2 separate regions of the Homo sapiens genome follow, and region 1 is linked to region 2. The links are contacts of gene promoters, found by promoter capture Hi-C in blood cells and fetal thymus (Javierre and others, 2016). All regions are on one chromosome and are shown on one strand. The core of a region is centred on a gene start or on the middle of the fragment in contact, and the rest is flanking DNA. Distances in the headings are between cores, read along the strand shown.

Evidence for each region. The method cuts DNA at HindIII sites, captures the fragments that hold promoters and counts their contacts. A CHiCAGO score of 5 or more calls a contact.
Region 1: a fragment that was not itself captured here is called in contact with the fragment with the promoter of ZNF169 in region 2 in 2 of 17 cell types (activated CD4 T cells and non-activated CD4 T cells); the score reaches 6.7 in activated CD4 T cells.

Annotation. Positions count from the first base shown.
Region 1 is chr9:97,412,461-97,415,789 of GRCh38, forward strand. All of the region lies in intron 1 of TDRD7 (tudor domain containing 7), which reads left to right. Among named protein-coding and RNA genes, the nearest start is that of TDRD7, 2.0 kb to the left of the region's middle. RefSeq lists enhancers at 1-118, 119-618, 223-482 and a silencer at 1-281. The HindIII fragment of the contact is 157 bases long and covers 1,734-1,890 here.
Region 2 is chr9:94,257,949-94,261,619 of GRCh38, forward strand. ZNF169 (zinc finger protein 169) reads left to right here and starts at 1,350. Exons shown (of 5, transcript NM_194320.4): 1 at 1,350-1,397. LINC02603 (long intergenic non-protein coding RNA 2603) reads right to left here and starts at 1,363. Exons shown (of 3, transcript NR_160773.1): 1 at 1,163-1,363. RefSeq lists enhancers at 869-1,514, 1,353-1,672, 1,515-2,161, 1,703-1,832, 2,162-2,807. The HindIII fragment of the contact is 11,618 bases long and covers 1-3,671 here.

The DNA of each region.
Region 1 (3,329 bases), core at 562-3,061, 3.2 Mb after region 2:
GTTTTAAATCTCTGAAGGGACCCTGCTCCGGGCCGGGCGTTCACGCGGGAGTCGGACGGAGCCTCCTGCCGCCTCGGAAGCTCTGCGCCGTGGGGGAAATGCAGCAGCGGGGTGTGGACGCGGGCGGGAGATGCGGACCAGGAAGTGGTTCCCGCTACCGGCGCGACAGGCCGCAGCCGCCGCCCCCAGCGAGGGATGTCCGCGCTCCCCTATTTGAACCCAAGTATTTTACACCACGAACTTCTCTTGAAGGTCTCTATAATCTGGAGACGAGCCCCAGGCAGGCCGCTTAAGTAATGCAGGACACACATCCCCATTTCTCTCAAACGAGGAGCACCCAGTGGGTACAGAGCACCCAGCTGGGAGGGAAACATGGATCCGTGAGTAAGTTGTCTCTCAACTTTCAGTAGCATCCCCTCAGCAGGGTCAGACTCTCAGCTTCAGCTTGCTAGGAGGGAGCTTGGAGCCGGCATATCTTTCTGCTCCCATTCACTTGAGAGGTATATTTCCATTAATAGCTAAAGGTACCATTCTCAAATAATTTCTAAGAGCAGGGAAGGGAAACAACCACATTAGAACAAGTCCTGGCCCAGAAGAATTCTGATCACCGCCCATCCAAACCAAACCAAACCAAAAAACCACAGATCTAGTTCATTAACCCTCCTACCAACACCTCTCTGCTCTCCAATCGTGCCGGTGAAAAAAATGCAGAGAAATGTTCTCTCTAGAGAGATAGGCAACAGCTTAATAGCAGAAGTAAAACTTGGACCCAAATCCCTGTCTCGTCCTGGGCTGCCTTGATGTGTATGAATGTGTTGCATACTGCAAATAATGTGAACTTTGCAGACCTGGATTGAAATCTGGGCTTCTCATTTTACAAATTGTGTGATCTTGAACAAATTACATGCTTTCTCTTAGCCTGGTTTTCTATGTGTCAAATAGAGGTACCTGGCTTACTTTGCAAGGCTTTTCCAAGATAACCACTGTATATCCTTTGCCTCATAATAATTGCCAAGCAGTATTCACTCTCTTCCTCCCAACAAACGGTCCATGTTTTACATAATTGGATTTTAGTTTTTTGAGGGCAGGGACACAAAGATCTTTGTGTTTACTATATAATATAAATGGGCACATGGTGGATATTTTTGCATTTCCTCTCAGCTGACATTCATTGAGCATCAGTTACGTGCAAAGTACTGTTCTGGGTATAGGGAATTGCCCCTGGGGCCAGCTGGATTAGCACTCACATCTCCTGTGCCCCAATCCAGGGCCCTTTGGTGGCACACAGCCTCCGTCTTTGGTAGTTGCACGGTGAGACTGTGAGGCAGCAGTTGGCAGTGCCTTCAGATTTCAGTCTCTGTAGATTGAAAATGAAGTGTAATCCCCTGCTAATGCCCTTTTAAGTGTACAGGTTGAACATGGCTGAATGAACTATTGTATTGTGCATCAAGAGATTTTAAACTCCTTGCAGAACCCCTCTTTTAAGTTCTCTGTGCAATATAATCTAGCTGGATACTTAATGTGAATATAAAGAAAAAATATAATCCAACCCCGAGTGCCTAATTTGTGTTTGTCAAGTGCTGTTTTCAAGAATTGAGATTTGACATAGAGTGCTTTGCATCTGGACACTTTCACAGAAGTTCCTTGGTGAAATTTTATATTTACGTGAACTGTTGTTTCTTTGTGCCAAACCTGCTTTTTCCTCCCTCCACTCCCACCTCTGTACTTTTGAAAGCTTCATTCTTGTCATTATTTCCCTGTAAGCCAAATATGTTTACAGTTTTGTCTTTCAAACTAAAAGTAATTAATTTTGCAATTTTTAGTTGAAGACATGTATATATGCCAATCAGAACTTGATCAGTGCAAGCTACCCAGTGTGACTTCAAAGTAAGCTTGGCATTTTAGCCTGTGCAGCTTTGTCATGAGTAAGCAAACTCGGTTTTCATTACATATTTGGACCTTATTTCAGCCTTCAGTGAATCCAAGGAAAGTTGAGAATCATGGCTCTTGCCCACCTTTCTTATCTTCCTTGTGAAAAAAAGAGACCTGAAGTGACTTGTCACAGGTAATCAGTAGCGGAACTAGGATTAAGACACAAACTCCTTACTAAGCCACTTTATTATCTCAGGGTTTTTTCGTCTAGTATGTAGACTTATGGAAATCCCTTACTTACGTACATTCGTGGTATGCAGTTAAAATGCACGAATAATTTGGAACTTGAGATCACAAGAATAAAAAAGATAACTCCCTGAAAAAAACTCTTAAGGAAGTATACCATCATCTGAGGGTATTAATCATCTTTTTCCTTTAAAAACCGGTTGGTGAAGGAGTAATTGAAGTGGTAACAGACTATGATTAGAAAGAAAAGAGCATTTAAAAGTGTCGCAAGGTGAGAAATCATTTATTGGGTAAAGATCTTAGGAAAAAATTTTCCCTCTGAGGCTCAGTTTATTGATTTGTAAGATAAGGAGCTTGGGTTAGCCTAGACGATGCCTAAAATGTGTCAGCACAGACATTATGGGACTTTAAGTTCCCGCTGTTGCTAAAATAGTGTCTTCAAGGAGAAGGGCAGTTAGTTATTAGAAGTATATGCCCTAAAGAGATATCCAGATACTTCAAAATTGAACATCTAACTAAAAGAAGCTAAGAGAGATTACTTGGTGTTTTCAGTTTACCCTAATAATTCTTCTGATTTGTTTTAAGATTTAGTGCCACTCGACAACTTAAACTGATGACATGAAAAATGTAGTAAGGAAGATGAGCCAAATCATACAGTTGGAAATAGTTGAGCAAGAAGAAACTTAGAAAAGAGAAGGCATAGGATGGAAGCCAGACTAGCTCAGCTAAAGGCCTTTGACACCAGTAGTTAGAGGAAGCAGATAACATGCAAATGACTGAGCCAGGGAGGATCAATCAATGGTAGAAGGCGTTTATCTGGGATACACCAAAACCAGGTTCTTCAGAATAGGACTTCCTTGGGCCATTTTCAGGTATAGTAAAGAGAAAAGCTGTGAATTTACAAAATGCAGTTTTGAAGTAGAGTGAGAATTATTTTAGGCCACTTAAATTATTTAAATTTTGTTTCCCTAAAGATTGTCATCACTCCCCAACTCCCCACCCCACCTCATGTGCATTATTAGTGTCTTGGATAATTAAGATTAACTGGGTATAAGCGAAGAAAAAAAGGAAAGCACGAAAGCATAAAAAAGATAGTCTCAGCTACTCAGGAGGCTGAGGCGGGAGAATCACTTGAACCCGGCAGGCGGAGGTTGCAGTGAGCCAAGATTGCGCCACTGCACTCCAGTTGAAATTCCTATGATATACTTTCT
Region 2 (3,671 bases), core at 100-2,599:
CAAGTTAACAACTATTTACACACAAAAGCACCTTCACAAGAACCAAAAATCAGGTAAGCACTCGCAGTACCTGGTTTTTACTTCATATGACTGAAAGAGGCACTGAAAAGGTAGGAAAGACAGTCTTGAATCACCAATGCCCCTGACCCATCCCCCAGCAGTGGCTCTGTGGTGCGGAGAGAGAATCTATGTTCTTGGGAGACGGCAAGCACAGCAATGATGAGACATTGCATTGAACTCAGTGCTGCCCTGTTATACCAGAAAGCAAAACTGGATCAAACACAGCTGATTCTCACGCATGGAGGGAGTATTTACACCAGCCTTAGCCCGAGGAGAATCACCTATCCCAGCAGTTGGAATTTGAGTTACTGCCAATCTCACCACCTCTGGCTAGAGGGCCCTAAATAAACTCGAAAGGCAGCCTGGGCCACAAGGACGGCTCACGCCTGTAATCCCAGCACTTTGGGAGCCTGAAGTGGGAAAATTGCTTGAGGCCAGGAGTTCCAGACCAGCCTGGTCAACATAGCGAGACCCAGATTCTTTTTTTTTTTTTTCCCCCTTGAGAAGGAATCTCACTCTGTTGTCCAGGCTGGAGTACAGTGGTGCGATCTTGGCTCACTGCAACCTCCACCTCCCGAGTTCAAAGTGATTCTCCTGCCTCACCCTCCTGAGTAGCCGGGACTACAGGCGCCCATCACGACGCCCAGGTAATTTTTGTATTTTTAGTAGAGACGGGATTTTACCACATTGGCCAGGCTGCTCTCGAACTCCTGACCTCTGATCCGCCCGCCTCAGCCTCCCAAAGTGCTGGGATTACAGGCGTGAGCCACCGCGCCCGGCCGCGAGACCCAGATTCTAAAAAACAAAACAAAAAATTAGCCCGGTGTGGTGCTATGCACCTGTATTCCCAGCTACTCAGAAAGTTGAGGTGAGAGGATTGCTTGGCCAGGGGTTTGAGGCTGCAGTGAGCTATGATCACACCATTGTACTGCAGCCTGGCCGACAGAGCAAGACCCCTTCTCAAAAAATAAGTAAGTAGATAAAGTTCAGGGGTGTACAATCACAGGTGTGAATTTGCAGGATGGAGGACATGTAACATCTTTTTAAAAAAAAAAAAAATTAGAAGGACCGTATAAAAAGTTAAAGAAGACTTACTGCTCACCTGACCACCCTTCTCATAGACCCGAAAGTTAGATTTTACTTTCTGATTTTTCACAATTTCTCCTGGATGCTGCGGTCCCGCCCCTCGCAGCATTCTGGATGTTGTAGTCCCTCGCTCCAGGGCATCCACGGTAGGGTAGTTGCGCGCCCCGTGGCAGTCTGGGTAGTGTAGTTCCGTGCCCAGGGGCAGTCCGGCTCGCGTACTTCCGCGTTCCGGCATCGTCGCCTGGTGCGTGGTGAGTGTCCTTTCACAGTTCTGGTGAGCTAGCCCGGAGGTGGTCCCCGCTTTCGCGGGCCTTCCACTGGAAGGAAGGTCGGGAAAGCTGGCATGGGCAGTCCATGTCGTGGCCACATGTTCCTTGGTGTTTTGAGTTTCGGCTGTGGGGTCTGGGCGTGCGTGGTCCACCCCGGAGAGAGGTCTTGGCGGAGGTCCTCTGGTGGGGAGGGGGCGTTGGCGTTGTCGCGTGCTTCTGGCGGGACTTTGGGCCCAGTATGTTGACCTGGAGGGGCCAGTGCAGGCCTGGGACCGACTTCCCGAGCTACTTCGCAGGTGCGTCCCCGGTACTTCGGGGGCCGCTGAGTGGGCTCTGCCTGGGGTACCCAGACAGCATCCTGCCACTAGTATCCCGCCATCCCCTCCCCACCATCGCGCCTCGGAGGTCTCTGGGCCAGCAAATGTGCCTTTGGAGGACATGATATCCTCGGTTGGAGCAAACTTCCCCATTAGTGGGAGGCACGCGGCTTGGGCATCAGTCGGGTTGTTTATTTGTTTATTTATTAAATTTTATTTATTTATTTATTTATTTTTGAAACAGAGTCTCTCTCTGTCGCCCAGGCTGGAGTGCAGTGGCGCAATCTCGGTTCACTGCAATCTCCGCGCCCCACCCCAGCCGCCGGGTTCAAGCCATGCTCCCGCGTCAGCCTCCCGAGCAGCTGGGATTACAGGCACCCGCCACCACGCCCGGCTAATTTTTTGGTTTTTGTTTTGTTTTGTTTTTTTGAGACAGAGTTTCGCTCTTGTCGCCCAGGCTGGAGTGCAGTGGCGTGATTCCCCTGCCTCAGGCTCCCGAGTAGCTGGGACTACAGGCGCACGCCACCACGCCCGGCTAATATTTTGTGTTTTAGTAGAGACGGGGTTTCACCATGTTGGCAAGGCTGGTCTCGAACTCCTGACCTCAAGTAATCCCCCCGCCTCGGCCTCCCAAAGTACTGGGATTACAGGCGTGAGCCACCGTGCCCAACCTCAGTCCAGTTATTAGGGCTCTTGTGGATGGCTGGTGCACTGTGGTGGTGATGGTGCAGCTTGGCCACTAGGACCCGGGTTTGTGGGGGAGGATTGTTTGTGGGTAGACATCCAGACTTGGTCTTGATAGTGGGGGGGGGGACGGCTAGGGCCGTGCGACTCGGGTCAGTAGCCTTGGGGCCTGGGGACCCAAGTTGGTGAGTTGAGAAGGGCTTGCCTGGAGTTAGACATCCCTGGGTTGTGGGTTGCATGGGGGCGTGCTTGTATCCAGATTGTCGGCTTCTGCAGCTGTGTGGCTCCCTCGGACTTGGGGACCCTTCCGGGAGCATGGGTTGCAACAAGCAGAATGGTGCCCATAGGGCCAAGGAACATTTTTCTCAAGCCTCAGGGGGCTGTTGAGTGACTCCTTGAATTCCTGGAGGTGGGGGAAGAAGTTGGGTGGAAGGCATCCAAACCTACATTTTTTTTTTTTTTTTTTTTTTTTTTGAGATGAAGTCTCACTCTGTCGCCCAGGCTGGAGTGCAGTGGAGTGATCTCAGCTCACTGCAACCACGGCCTCCCGGGTTCAAGCAATTCTCTGCCTCAGGCTCCTGAGTAGCTGGTACCACAGGCGCCCGCCACCACGCCCGGCTAATTTTTTTTGTATTTTTAGTAGAGACGGGGTTTGTTTTTTGTTTGTTTGTTTGTTTGTTTGTTTTGAGAGGGAGTCTTGCTCTGTCGCCAGGCTGGAGTGCAGTGGGGTGGCGCGGCGCGATCTCGGCTCACTGCAAACTCCGCCTCCCGGGTTCAAGGTATTCTCCTGCCTCAGCCTCCCGAGTAGCTGGGACTACAGGCACGCGCTACCACACCTGGCTAATTTTTGTGTTTTTACCATGTTGGCTAGGATGGTCTCGATCTCCCGACCTCGTGATCCGCCCGCCTCGGCCTCCCAAAGTGCTGGGATTTCAGGCGTGAGCCACCGCACCCCGCTCGAGACGGGGTTTCACCATGTTGGTCAGGCTGGTCTTGAACTCCTGACCTCCTGATCCACCGGCCTCGGCCTCCCAAAGTGCTGGGATTACAAGCGTGAGCCACTGCGCCCGGCCAAGACCTACTCTTATTTCTAACTTCTCAGTATGAAAACATTGCAAAGATATCCAGAAGTAGTTTTGAAGTTCCATGGATTCATCACTCAGATTCACCACTTACAAATGACTCACCTGTCTTCTTTCCCCCAAATCTGCAACCCCAAGTGTGGATCTCTTTGGAAATTGTCTCTTTCACTAGG